Regions from separate parts of the Homo sapiens genome. Here regions 2, 3 and 4 are each linked to region 1. Evidence: promoter capture Hi-C in 16 types of primary human blood cells and fetal thymus (Javierre and others, 2016). All regions are on one chromosome and are shown on one strand. Each heading gives the region's core, a stretch centred on a gene start or on the middle of the fragment in contact. The rest is flanking DNA. Distances are from core to core; before and after follow the strand shown. Region 1 holds the start of CCKBR (cholecystokinin B receptor). Region 2 holds the start of LOC107984303 (a long non-coding RNA gene). Region 3 has its middle 11 kb from the start of OR56A1. Region 4 has its middle 15 kb from the start of OR56B4.

The links. The method cuts DNA at HindIII sites, captures the fragments that hold promoters and counts their contacts. A CHiCAGO score of 5 or more calls a contact.
Region 2: a contact is called between a fragment that was not itself captured here and the fragment with the promoter of CCKBR in region 1, in 4 of 17 cell types (M2 macrophages, M0 macrophages, M1 macrophages and 1 more). The highest score is 7.5, in M2 macrophages.
Region 3: a contact is called between a fragment that was not itself captured here and the fragment with the promoter of CCKBR in region 1, in 1 of 17 cell types (M1 macrophages). The highest score is 5.6, in M1 macrophages.
Region 4: a fragment that was not itself captured here is called in contact with the fragment with the promoter of CCKBR in region 1 in 1 of 17 cell types (monocytes); the score reaches 5.5 in monocytes.

Annotation. Positions count from the first base shown.
Region 1 is chr11:6,258,225-6,261,727 of GRCh38, reverse strand. It overlaps CCKBR (cholecystokinin B receptor), which reads right to left and starts at 1,890. Exons shown (of 5, transcript NM_176875.4): 1 at 1,649-1,890. The coding sequence starts at 1,799. The HindIII fragment of the contact is 1,486 bases long and covers 1,196-2,681 here.
Region 2 is chr11:6,021,178-6,024,680 of GRCh38, reverse strand. It overlaps OR56A1 (olfactory receptor family 56 subfamily A member 1), which reads left to right. Exons shown (of 2, transcript NM_001388488.1): 2 at 1-3,503. It overlaps LOC107984303 (a long non-coding RNA gene), which reads right to left and starts at 2,681. Exons shown (of 4, transcript XR_001748102.2): 1 at 2,593-2,681. It also overlaps a transcript of OR56A3 not described here. The HindIII fragment of the contact is 1,112 bases long and covers 1,342-2,453 here.
Region 3 is chr11:6,040,178-6,043,680 of GRCh38, reverse strand. No RefSeq gene overlaps it. Among named protein-coding and RNA genes, the nearest start is that of OR56A1, 11 kb to the right of the region's middle. The HindIII fragment of the contact is 313 bases long and covers 1,446-1,758 here.
Region 4 is chr11:6,091,242-6,094,744 of GRCh38, reverse strand. No RefSeq gene overlaps it. Among named protein-coding and RNA genes, the nearest start is that of OR56B4, 15 kb to the left of the region's middle. The HindIII fragment of the contact is 9,529 bases long and covers 1-3,503 here.

The DNA of each region.
Region 1 (3,503 bases), core at 641-3,140:
ATGTTCCATGGTCAGGCCTAGCAGGCTCTCTGCAAACCCTCTAGGCTGGTCTCCAGCCTGTTCATTATTCCCTTCTTAAGATATATGTTCTAGTCACTCAAAACTATGTCACAGTGGATAAAAGTGCCATGAATTCAAACTTTGAGCTTCTTATACATCTTGTCCTTTTATTTGGGATGCTTTCTGCCTCTTCTGCCCGTTCACTTGGCTGGCTCTCCCATATGTATATGTGTGTGTGTGTGTGTGTGTGTGTGTGTGTGTGTGTATATATATTTTTTTTTTTTTTTTTTTTTGCCAACAGGAAGCTTAGAGCCAGCCTCCCTAATTTTTTTGACTTTGTAGCTCATTTCCTCAAGAGGCCAACTTTAATTCTCAAGGAGGCTGGGCTGGGCTAGAGGTGTTCCACTTGTGTTCCCACTATCTTTTCCCTGTCAAGGCTCTTCCACTTTGTGCTGCAATCCCCTGCTTTTCTGTCTCGCCCATTAAACTTTGAGCTCTGTGAAGTAGGAATTGTGTCGGTTTTGTTCAACTTACATTCCCACTGCCTAGCACAATCTCTGGTTCAATAAATATTGGCTGAATGACAGAATCCAAGTGTGAGTGTGTAACAACTCGGCTGAGAAAGCATAGATTATTTCGTGGGGTAAATAAATACTTGGATTACAATTTATTCCAACTTTCCCTTTTTGAGTTTAGAAAAATTTCCTTCTGCTTAACATTGCTCCTTCACCTAGAATCCCACTCCTTCCTTTTCTGCCTACTCAACTTCAAGACCCAGCTCTAAGGTTCTAGCCTCTGTGAAGTTCTTTTGGTGCCCACAGTTTAGACCCTTTCATGGGACTTCCATTGTGTCTGTGATTTTTCCATTTGCTTGGTTTCTCTCTGCACTTGGCTATGGGCCATGAGGGTCCAGACTGGGTCTAGTTTGCCCTGTGCCCCCAGCACCTAGCCTAGGGCTGGAGAGAGAGCTTGGAAGATAGCTGGAGACATTACTTGCAGACAAAGAGAGAGGGCACAGAGCCTCGAAAGCTCCAACTAGGGAGGCAGAGGGGTTTGAGAAGGAGTGAAATGGAGGCAGGCAGCTCTAAGGAGCATCCCCTAGTGTCCAGCCTAATTCAGATTTGAGGATCTTTTTTGGGATGGCTGGGGGCTGGGGTGTCAGATGTGATCACAACTTCAGCTTCGCATTCAAGCTTTCCAGAGTGCTCCCTCCCTCAACCAGCCCCCTTCTTTTCCCAGTCCTGCCTTCCTTTCTTCCTTCCCTTCTCTGTTGTGGCTCTGTGAACTGGATGTAAGAGGGAAAAGGAGATCTGCAGGGTTGGCAAGAGGAGGTCCTCGCCTTCTGACTGGTGTCTAGGAGGGGCTGCGTGTTGGGGAAGGGGCTGTGCTTTGGGGTGAGCAGGGGCTCTAGGTGTATTCAGGGGACCAGGATGTGAAGGAGTTCCGACCAGGTGGTGTGAAGCTGTGATGAAGTTGTAGGCTGTGGGGGTGAAGGTGTGAGGGGAGCTGTTTGGGGGCTGAGGGAGTACTATGAGAGGCACGGTGTGGACGTTTGAGAAGGTAGTGTGGAGCTCGTTGGGGGGACTCTATTAGTGTTCTGGGGTACAGTGAGAAATAGCTTGTGGGGGGGGCTGAGGGAGGCACCCACCTCGTGTCCCGGCTCCGCGAATGCGAGGGGGCTCGCAGCTGAGGTTGCCCACACTGCTGCTGTTGAGGAGAGGCGCCCCCGGGCGGCACAGGGAAGCCCCCGGCCCGGGTCCGGTTCCCTGCACGCTCCGGTTCAGCTTTAGCAGCTCCATGGCCCCCGCCGAGCCCGCCGCCTTACTCAGCTCGACCCGGCGGGCTCCCAACGCGGCTCCACCTGCTCACGCTGCGATTCCGGCTCAGGCTCCCGCCGCCCTCCTCTCCCTGCCCCCTGCCCCGCCTGGTCCCCGCCCCCAGCCCAGGCGCCTGCCCTCCACTCTCCCGCGGCTCGCCCCGCCTGGGTTCCCGTCCCTCCGCCAGCCTCTGTCCCGCCAGGTGACTGTGCACCCCCTCCCTGGCTCGGGAGTTCTGCCCCTCCCTGTGCGACTGTCCTCCAGGCTCGCCCCCTCCCTAGATGTGTCCCGTCTCCTCTTAGAGATTTCTCTCCTGCCCACCTCTCTTTATCACCCGCCCCCACCCCCGATTCCCAGGAATGAGAGAGAGAGAGAGAGAGAGAGAGAGAGAGAGAGAGAGAGAGAGAGATTGAAGACAAGAGTATTGGCAGCGTAGGGGGAGGTTTCGGGGAAGGGAGGGTAGGAGGGGTTGGGTAGAGACGGCTGCCACGGATCCAGCATCTTTCTCTGGTGTATCAGGGAACGTGGAGGTGGCGTTGGAGACCAGGTCTGCGTGCGTCACCTGCTGAGGCGCGGATGCTTTAGTCTGAGCCTAGAGCCGCATTTACCGTACTGTGTTGCAGTGGCCGCAGTGACCGTGACACTATTGCTACCGTAGTTCCCTGCAGCTCCTCGCTGCGGGCCTGGGGTAGCTCCTGCATCTGTCTCCGCACCCTCCATCTCCTGTCTGAGGCTTAACACTCAGGCTTGCACTTAAGGGTCCCAAGGAGCCCTCCACAGCTGGGCGGGAGTGGGGGTGGGGCCGGGGCCGAGATTTGGCTCCAGGGAAGCCTTGCCAGGGAAAAGGGCTCCCGGGAGGAAGCTTCTGACTTGAGTGTTGAGGGCAGTTGGGGGTGGTGGCAAGCACTGACAAGGATAAACCAGAGTAAGGTGAGGATGGGATATAATTCTAACGCCGGCCCAGCGCAGGCAAAAGAGAAGGAGAAGGTTGGCTTTCTCCACCGTCTCCAGGCAGCGCCCACGCCCACCCGACACGCTAACGCTCCCTGTTTGCTCTCAGTGCAGGCAGAGCTGCCTGTGTAGGGTGTCAGGTTCCCACGAGAGGGGGCTAGAAGGGGACTGGGTCACTGCGGTGCAGCGGGAACAGGGCTGAAGGGTGCAGGACTGAACTGGGTTCAGCTTCTCGGGGCAGGATTTGCCTCTTCTACTATTTCAGCCCTGCTCCCTATGCATTCTCCTATCCATTCCTTTTCTTCCCCAGATTCCTATCTCCAGATTCCTATCTCCAGATTCCTATCCATTCTTCAGATTCCGGATGAACTCCAATACGATGTGAAATTCTTCTGACCCCCAGCAGTAGCTGTAAGAGGTTGGGGGCGGGCATCAGTGGAAGAGCAAATTAGAGAATGGAGTCTGGCTTTATGGGGGATTCAGCAGGCCCTTATCCAATTAATCTTTTGGAGAGGACCTGGTTCAGCCAGCCCTGAGTTTATAGGGGCTGAAGCATTGAAAGAGAGTTGAAAGACAGTTTATGCCTGAGATGTCATCAACTGCTCCCCCTTTCCTTCCTCCTGGTACTGCCTGTCTTGCCCATCAGAGAGCCTGGACCAGAGGAGCTTGATTTGCTATTTGTTCCGCTCCAGCACAGGTGGGGCCTCAGATAACCTGCTCAAGTTTTCCCACATT
Region 2 (3,503 bases), core at 648-3,147, 240 kb after region 1:
TGTGTTTTGAGCACTTGCAATATACCAATGTCTATGAATAATAATATTTAATTTTCATAAGAGCCTTCTATACGTGATCATAAAAGTGAGTTTTTAAAAAGGAATCTAATAGGATATAATTCATAGGAATATAATACATCTGTAATCAGGTGATATTTTCAAGCATTTGGTCAACTCCATTCGTCTTTCCAGGAGTGCTTTCCCTGCATCTGCCATGATTTCACCCGGAAGCAAGCCCAGAATGAACTCAAAGAGGAGTCTATGTTATTTGGCCAAAACTCAGATCTTAATTCCCGAACCAGACTTCTGTAGATCAATGCAAATGGCCAACACAATTATGAGATGCTTGACTCAAACTGGGTGTACATAGGGATAGAAACTACCAACTTTGTTGTAGGGATTTGTAAAGGATGGAGGGACCAAGACAGCAGTGGGACAACAGTGATCACCCCTCACAGTAACTAGCACAGCTCTCACATATTGAGGGGCTCAGTAAACATTTCCTTACTTATGATATTGAATTGGCTAAAAGAAGAGTTGAAAAATCATGTCTATCTTTAATCTCTAGTTCCCCAGTAGTAGAGTCCTAAACGTAACAAATGGATAAACCACATACTTGAAAAGTTGGCTCTCTGCTCTGGTTCTAAGTATAGAGGTTTAGAGGACCACAGATTTCTCACAAAATTGTCAAGCTCACTGCAAGTGGTAAAATAACTGGTCTCAAGGGTCCTAGATAGGCTTTGAAGTAAATCCTCATACAGATGATAAAGGAGCAAGATAACCAAAGAATCAGACCATGAAGGGCAGACCCAACTCTGCTGTGAAGTTCCCATAGCAAAATGTTAAAACATGTCCTCTCTGTAAAGGTTTTCAAGCACTGTCTTGAGTGGATATAATGAAGTAGTATAAATTAAAGGCATTTTAAATGGATGGGGTACCAATGTTTTGTCAGTTTTTCAAAACTGAGGAAGTCTATGAAGATTTGCTTTGCTGATACAACCTGAATATGTTCCAACTGCATTGGAAGAGGGTGCATTCAGAACATGAGAAGAGAGACAGGAGTAGCTTTCCAAAGGTCACTCCCCTCACTCCCTGGTTTGCAGGTTAGTCATATTTGTGTGAGGAACACAGCCTCTTGAGCAGGAAGATCTGATATCATTGCACATTGCTATTCAATACCATAGCTGACTTAAATCAAGGCCAGTGGAAAGAAAGAATAGCAAGTCCTCTGGAATTAAGGTGGAAAAAGAAGGGACCCTATGTTGGTAGCCAAAGCTCAAAACAAACACCTAAGTATTGTTGAGGGAACAATACTACACTTTCCATTTATCACAGAAAGCTTTTTAGTGCCTAGCCATCCTGATACTTTATTATGCTTTGGTGTATATTCTAGGCAGTGAGAGTTCTGAGACATCAGAGAAAGTTTATAGCATCAAGACTGCAACTGTAGAACTTAAACAGCAACGTCTGAAGTTAAGCAAACTCTTCATAGTTGGCAAGTCAACATTGCCCCTTTGTGGCTATTTGTGGGAATAACGGTACTGTATTGAATGCCAGTTCTCAGTCTCAGGTGTTTGAAAGAGAACGTGACAAGTCCGTTTAGAAAACTCCTGTACTTCCTGCTCATAGGGCACATAGGGACTTGAGTGATTAATTTAACAAATAAAAGAGACATACCAATTTATACCATGATTTTCTTTTCTTCAGCAACATTTAAAAGTCAATACCAAATCACTGACATGAGTCAGGTATTCATAAGAATAGTGAATATCCTTAGTGTTTCATAACATATTACACTATCAGCATTTGGCTGAGTACTGTATATAATAACAACATTTCTGCACCTATTCAACCAAAAATTAGTTATTGAGTTCTTTACGTGTGATTAGCACTCTGAACATACAGGAAAACTAAGTTTTAGAGAGATTATGGTCAAAATAGCCCATGAATTATAATTCCCATTTTTGCAGATGAGGCAACTGAGCAAAATGATAAATTATACATAGTCATTTAATCAATAGGGACCAGAGTTAAAATTGAGAAGTAAGGCATTTTGCTACATAAACCCATTTTTGCTTCTTCAGAGTCTAGGGATTGAGGTATATTTTTAATCTTTCACTGGATAGCTTTGTAGTTTCCTAAGTTTTTCATACTCCAGATTATAGATATCAAAGGCAGAGTACACTAAAAACCCACACGCATTGAATTAGTCAATGCAATTAAAGTTAGCTACTGTAACAATGATAGCACAGTGGCCTAACACAATAAAATTTACTTCTCACCCACACCTCATTCCAATGCATGAGGGCTTTGCTCCACATCAACATTTAGGGACCCATGCTTTTTTTATTATGTGGATCCTCCATGTTCTGGGCTCTTAGAGACCTTCACTGGTGCTTCTGAATCTGGGTGGCAAGCCAGAAAGAGAAAGAATATGCAGGATTTTGTAAGCTTTAGGGCCCCAAACTAGGAGACACATCACTTTCTCTATCATTTCATCGGCCAGACTCCTCACATAGATCCAGCTGCTTGCAAAAGAGCCTTGATCATAAATTTTCATTTCTCTTTTTCCTACATAGACAATAGGCTTACCTCCTTATCAAGGGAGACCACCCAAGCTCTCATCTGATTACTCTATGCAGCAAAAAATCCAAGACCTACAGATGTGTGTGGCCTTCTCCATCAGATCCCATTGTGATTTCTCTTTCACCAGTGATATTCTGTCTCTCTATTAATGGCGGAGCAGATGATTTCCAACTGGAAATGAAGTGTAGAATTCAGTTAGCAGTAACTTAATAGTAATGCGAGAATGCTTTAGGAGCAGATATTGCAATATTTTTACTTACTGAGAGGGGGACAAGTTTCTTGACTAGACATTGTTTGCGTTCTCTAGGAGGAACTCTCCTGATCATTGTTTTCAATGTCCTGATCATTGCTTTTTATTGTTTTTTTAATGCCATCTGCCTTTGGGGGTTTGTGCCTTTATTAATGTTCCCATTATCCTAAATGTGCCTTTATTAATGTTCCCATTATCCTAAATGAAGCAGGCATCGAACAATGTGACTTCTTTTGGAGTGACACTGCATTTGAACCTACTTTCTACTTATAAAATATTAGTATCAGTACTTTAAATAATTTTTTATTTAATTATTCATTTTAAAATTGATACATAATAATTATACATATTTATGAAGTTACATACAACGTGTAGTGAGCAGATCAGGGTAATTAGCATATCCATCATCTCAAACATTTATCATTACTTTGTGTTGGGTATATTCAATATTCTTTCTTCTAGCTATTTGAAAATATACAATATATTGTTGACTATTATCATCCTTTAGTTCTGTAAAACACTAGTACTTGTTTCTCCTTTCTAATTGTAATTTGTGTAGGATCAATACATTTTTTAAATTCTAAAGCAAAAACTTTCTTCAAAAGTCAAGTTCATGTTTCTTTGGCAATAAACCCCCTCGAAGGCCTAATAGGTTTTTGATCTATCT
Region 3 (3,503 bases), core at 353-2,852, 220 kb after region 1:
TCGTTAATTCTGGTCACACATCTGATTGCACACACAAGAAAGAAAGTTTGGGTAGACGTTTTACTTAAAAACATTCAAATGCCATTCTTAATCCTGAAGGTCCTGCATTAGTTGCATTTCACTTGATTTCCCATTTCTGGATGCTGCTGCCCTTTTCCTATGCTAAAATTTATTTTTATCAAATGTTTTAGATACATTTTGGAGTCCCCAAATCATTCTGACCTCAGGTTCCTACAGACGTATATTTTCTTTCACTGTGATGCATAGTCCTTCTAAGATATGAAAGCTTCAGCTGTGAAATAGAACTCTATTTTATTTTATTTTTTTAGACAGAGTTTCGCTCTTGTTGCCCAGGCTGGAATGCAATGGCTGGATCTCAGCCCACCACAACCTCTGCCTCCCAGGTTCAAGAGATTCTCCTGACTCAGCATCCTGAGTAGCTAAGATTACAGGCATACGCCACCATGCCCGGCTAATTTTTGTATTTTTAGTAGAGACGGGGTCTCACCATGTTGACCAGGCTGGTCTAGAACTCCCAACCTCAGGTGGTCCACCCACCTCGGCCTTCTGAAGTGCTGGGATTACAGGCATGAGCCACCGTGCCTGGCCTGATCTCTCTTGACTGTGGAGAAGGATGAGGCTCATGCAGCCGCAAATCCAACCATGAACCCAGTGAGGAGATAAGAGTTAAATTGTGCTTTGATATGCTGGTATAGCATGATTTTATATACTCAAGAGGGACTTTAGCTGGTCAATATGAAGTAACAGGAGCTAGATTACCCTGTCACTTGAAATAACTAAAAGACTGAACAAAATATGTGAAATAATGTTTCTGAAGGCACTGGACATCAGGCAATGGAGGACAGTGATCCCCAAGAGATAGGAAACAAAAAAGGTGAGTCTTGTTTACTGGAAAGTGATTGTTTCAATTCGTTAGGGAGAGATTCCATGCTACGTCAAAGAGAGGGCAAACTCAGCTGCAGCCTGGCAATCTTTCTGTGTCGAGGAGAAGGGGAAGGGAGTCCAAAGAAGCTAGAGTTCACAAGGCAGAGTATTGAGGAAGAGAAAACTCCATAGAAAGAGAATCCTAAAGATTTATAGAAATTCCCCCTTGAGTGTTCAGCAATGTACTGATTAGCATATGCATGTGAGGGAACTTCATGAAGGGCTAAATATCTGAAATAAATTAGATATCTTCTATCAAGGAAGAAATGGAGAGGGGATGATAGTGAGACGGAAATGGGTGTTGAAAAGACAACTAACAGAGTCAAACATATAAGAAAACAACAAAATTCTGCATAATGTTCTGAATAACTTTTATGCCAATGAATTTGAAAAACTAAAAATTTAAAAATCACCAGTAGCTTCAGATAATAAAACTCAAATATATAAATAACCATTAAAAATTTGAAATATTAATTAAAGACCTTTTCCCAACAAAAGCTTCAGTACACTATGGGTTTATAGGTGAGTTCTAAAATTTTAAGAAATAGATCATCTCTATCATGCATGCATTCTTCAAGATAATAGAAAAAGATGGAAAATTTTTACCAACTTATTTTATGAAGCTAGAGTAACCTTGTCTCTAAAACTGGATAATGACAATTCAAACTGTGCAGTGTTTTCACCATGCATTTCATTGCAAGGCAACCCAAAGCCAATCAGTCCATTGTGTAATCAGCCCATTCCCCTGAGAGTCTCACCTCTCAGTAGGAGGTGGGTATGTTTCCATATCTTCCAGGTGGCCAAGGGCAAGCTTCTCTGATCCAGGCATGTAAAGAGCCAAGTATCTCTCCATAACTGCCATTAGCCATCCCTTAAAGTATATTTCCTACCTAGTTATTACACACCAAGGCTAAAAGCTCTCCCATAACACAAAGTAATTTTTGATACCCCCAAAAGTCAAAACTGTCAGGTAATACAATGCAAAACAGAACAGTGTCTTAGATTTTGAGAGGGATCTATTCTCTTTCCATTCTTGGGCTTCTGTGACGAAAACAGAGGTTTTTCCTAGGTTTTTCTGTGGTGCCTCCTCTGCTTTTCCCCAGGAGTCCCAGGCTGTTAGAATTTATCTTAGGTTCTCTCATGTGGGCATCAAGAGTGGGAAGAAGACAAAATGGAGAAAAACAATTCAGTCTACTGAAAAGAAAAAAACTTTCAGAAGAACATGATTCCAGAAGAGGAAAAAGATAAAGCTCTCTTAAATACATTTAACTTGGATATCTGTTTTTAATTAAGCTGATTTTAGCCATAGAGCTATTTTTTTCTAAAAAGAAATTCTTTTAAATCTTTTATTACCAGACTCTAGCTAGAACAGCCAATATTTCTGGCTTTTGAATTCTGCCATAGGTAATTTCCCACATGAAATTAATTAATAAGTTTTAACTAAGGTTAACTTAACTATGGATGCATAAGATATCTCAAAGAGACGGTAAGTAGTTTCTATTTTTACAAGATTTAGAATCTCCCCAAGGGTAGTTCAGGGAAAGGAAAATTCAAGACAGGAAATCAGAGGCTATCCATGGGCGAAAAAACCCTCAATAAATGGCAAAGTTACACAAATAACAAACCAGGAAGGAATGCTTCCGGAAGCCAAGAATTGAACCCTTGCCACAATTGTCAAAAGATAAAGCGTCAGCTACTGAGCTACACAGCATTGAGCAGTTTCTATTGCTCTTTCCAGAAGCCTAGAGCAGCCAATTTCAAGCATGAAAAGGCTTTTAACTGCTCAAGATAATTTTTAGGGCTAACTATAATGTGAACCCCCAAGTTTCTGTCCTCTAGATGGTGGAGACCAAGAGAAAATATCCCCACACAGTCCCAGGGTTAAGCTCTTAAGGACACAAAACAAGACGAAATTTCATTTGGTATTGGTTTCAGGGACACGCAACAAAGTTTGTAGCTGATTAGCCTGCTGGCCTGGCTTGAAAGCAGGGTTATACGGATCTCAAACCCACATTCTATCCTGTGATACCCCTGTCTCCATTACAGAAAGAAAAATTCTTAGCACAACGTGCATCAGATTTGCTACAGCCTAAGACTAGTCTCACAAATCCTTTTTTCTATCAATCAAACTCTTGCAGAGAAGACAAATAGTGACGTTTACCATTTATACACACACACACACACACAGAGTCAGAGAGAGAGAATAGAGAGAGAGAGTCAGAGAGAGATAGAGAGAGAGACACACACACACACACACAGAGGGAGAGAGAGAGAGAGAGAATGAGACGAGAAACTTGGCTGGTAAGAATTTCTTACCCTTTTTGCCAGCATACCAGGTTTCCAGGTTCCCTTTCTCTGTAGCTTCCAGAAGAATGGAGCAGCTTTTGATGACCCTGCTATCTGTGCCATAGCTGTGAGGGTCAAGCCACTTTACAAAAGAAAATTCTGTTTGATGAAGCCATGGAGAAAATATTCTCAATTTTGCAAGATGTTGCCCAATGGGCTACGTGGGGAAATGAATTAACATTTTCAATTCCAGCAAAATACACATAACAAAA
Region 4 (3,503 bases), core at 663-3,162, 170 kb after region 1:
GCCAATTTGTTTTGTACTTTGTCTGTCCTATCAAGGGATGGGCTTTTTTATCTGTTCCTTGAAGGGGATTGATTCATGATGCTAGAAATCAGATAATAAAACTTGTACATATATAGGTGTTAAGTCCATTTAAAGTATCAAGTCCAGGCTGGATGGTGGAGATTAAGAAGATGGCACAAATCCTGAAAGAGAAAGGTTCAGGTTATTAGGAAAGAAAGAATTCATAAGACAGAGGTTGAGTATAACATCTGTGGATATTTTGGAGATTAGTTACTATGGACTGTGGTGACAAAAAAATCTCGTCTTATTAACTTCCTGTATGAGTAGTGTTGAAACAGAAATTATGTTTTTAAAGGAAGTTTGAATTTCCTGATTTATGACAATCTTATCTATTGAGTGAGAGGCCCACATCCTACATATGAGTATAAAGAAACTCTGTAAAGCCCTACAAACTAAAGAGTGCCCCTTTCTTCCTATCACTCAGACTTAATAAGATACAATAAAATTTTGAAAATAAACTGGCTAAGATTTGTATGGCCAGGCATTTTGATCCAAGCCTTCATGAGTGTTAAGAGTTACAATCAATAGAAAACTTGGGACTATTGGCTTGTGAAAAAATAAAGGGCAGATTCATGAAAATTGCTTATACTCTAATGCCTTCCCATCAGCATGATATTCATAAATTTGATAATATATAATGAGATTATTGTGATTTCATTCACATGTTTGAAAATTCCTATTGACATATCTGGAAAAGCTAACCTATAATCTGTAGCCTGGTGACAGGTTTTACATCAAAGTTCATTAGAGAACAAGATTGAAGAATTCATACTATGCAAGTAAGATATATTATTAAGCTACAATAATTAACATAGTGTGGTATTGACAAAAAATGAAACACTTCATGAGCAAAGGAGAAGTAAGATCCTTTTCAGACAAGAAACTGCTAAGGGAATTCATTACCACCAAACATGCCTTATAAGAACTCCTGAAAAAAGCACTAAATATGGAAAGGAAAGACCATTACCAGCCACTACAAAAACACAATAAAGTACACAGACTAGTGACATTATAAAGCAACCGCACAAATAAGTATGCATATTAACTAGCCAACAACATGATGACAGGATCAAATCCATACATATCAATATTAACCTTGAATGTAAACAGGCTAAATGCCCCAATTAAAAGGTATAGAGTGACAAACTGGATAAAAAATCAAGATCCAATGGTATGCTGTCTTCAAGAAACCCATCTTATTTGCAATCACACCCATAGGCTCAAAATAAAGGGACAGAGAAAAATCTACCAAGGAAACAGGAAAGAGAAAGCAGCAGGAGTTGCAATTCTAATTTCAGACAAAATAGACTTTAAGCCAACAAACATCAAAAAAGGCAAAAAAGGGCATTACATAATGGTAAAGCGTTCAACTCAACAAGAAGACCTACGTATCCTAAATATATATGTACCCAACACAGGAGCACTCAGATTCATAAAGCAAGTTTATAGAGACCCTGAAAGACACTTAGACTCCTACACAATAATAGTGGTAGACTTCAACACCCCATTGACAGTATTAGCTAGATCATCAAGGAAGAATATTAACAAAGATATTTAGGACCTGAACTCAACACTGGACCAAATGGACCTGATTGATAGATATTTACAGAACTCTCCACCCCAAAATAACAGAATATACATTCTTCTAACCTGCACATGGCACATACTTTAAAATTGACCACCCAATCGTAAGTAAAACATTCCTCAGAAAATGCCAAAGAACTGAAATCATACCAACCACTCTCCTGGACCACAGGGCTATAAACATAGAATTTAAGACTATTTGCTTAAAACCGTACAATTACATGGGAATTAAACAACCTGCTCCTGAATGACTTTTGGGTAAATAAATGAAATTAAGGCAGAAATCAAGAAGTTCTTTGAAACTAATGAGAACAAAGCTACAACATACCACAATCTCTGGGACACAGCTAAGGGAGTGTTAAGAGGGAAATTGGTAGCACTAAATGCCCACATCAAAAAGTTAGAGACGTCTCAAGTTAACAACCTAACATCACAACTAAAAGAACTAGAGAAGCAAGAGTAAACCAACCCTAAAGCTAGCAGAAGTCAAGAGATTACCAAAATCAGAGCTGAACTGAAGGAGATTCAGTCATCAAAAACCATCAAAAGATCAGTTAATCTAGGAGTTTGTTTTTTGAAAAAAAATGAATAAGATAAATAGACCTCTAGCTAGACAAATAAAGAAGAAAAGAGAGAAGATCCAAATAAACACAATTAGAAATGACAAAGGGGATGTTACCACTGACCCCACAGAAATACAAATAACCATCAGAGACTACCATGAATTTTATGTACACAAACTAGAAAATCTAGAATAAATAGAAAAATTCCTATACACATACACACTCCCAAGTCTAAACCAGGAAAAATTAAATGTCTGAACAGGCCAACAAAAAACTTTGAAATTGAATTAGTAGTAAATAGCCTTCCAATCAAAAAAAGCCCAGGATCAGGTAGATTCACAGACAAATTCTTATAGATGGACAAAGAAAACTGGTACCACTTCTACTGAAACTGTTCCCAAATAACTGAGGAGGAGTTGCTCCCCAACTCAATCTATGGGGCCAGCATCATCCTCGTACCAAAATCTGGCAGTGACACAACACAAAAAGAAAACTTCAGGTCAATATCCTTGATGGACATTGATGCAAAAATACTCAAAAAAAAAAATACTAGCAAACTGAATCCAGCAGCTCATCAAAAAGCTAATCCACCATGATCAAGTAGGCTTTATTCCTGACATTTGTGTTGGTTCAACATAAATGAGTCAATAAATGTGATTCATCACATCATCACATAAGCAGAACTAAAGGCAAAAACCACATGATTATCTCAATAGATGAAGAAAAGGCTTTTGATAAAGTTCAACACCTCTTCATGTTAAAAACTCCCAATAAACTAGGTATTGACCAAACATACATGAACATAAATAAAAGCCATCTATGATAAACCCACAGCCAACATTATACTGAATGGGCAGAAGGTGGAAGCATTCCCCTGGAAAACCAGCATAGGACATGATGTCCTCTCCCAACACTCCTATTCAACATAGTATTGGAAGTCCTGGTCAGAGCAATCAGGCAAGAGAAAGAAAGAAAGCACATCCAAATAGGAAGAGAGGAAGTCAAACTATCTCTGTTTGCAGGTGACATGACTCTACATATAGAAAACCCCATAATGTTGGCCTAAAAGCTCCTTAAGCTGATAACGTCAGCAAAGTTTTAGGATACAAAATCAATGTACAAAAATTGCTAGCATTGCTATATACCAACAAGAGTCAAGCCAAAGCCAAATCAGGAACACAGTCCTAGTCACAATTGCCACAGAAAGAATAAAACACCTAGGAATACAGCTAACTAGGTAGGTGAAAGATCTCTACAAAGAGAACTACAAAACACTGCTCAAAGAAATCAGAGATG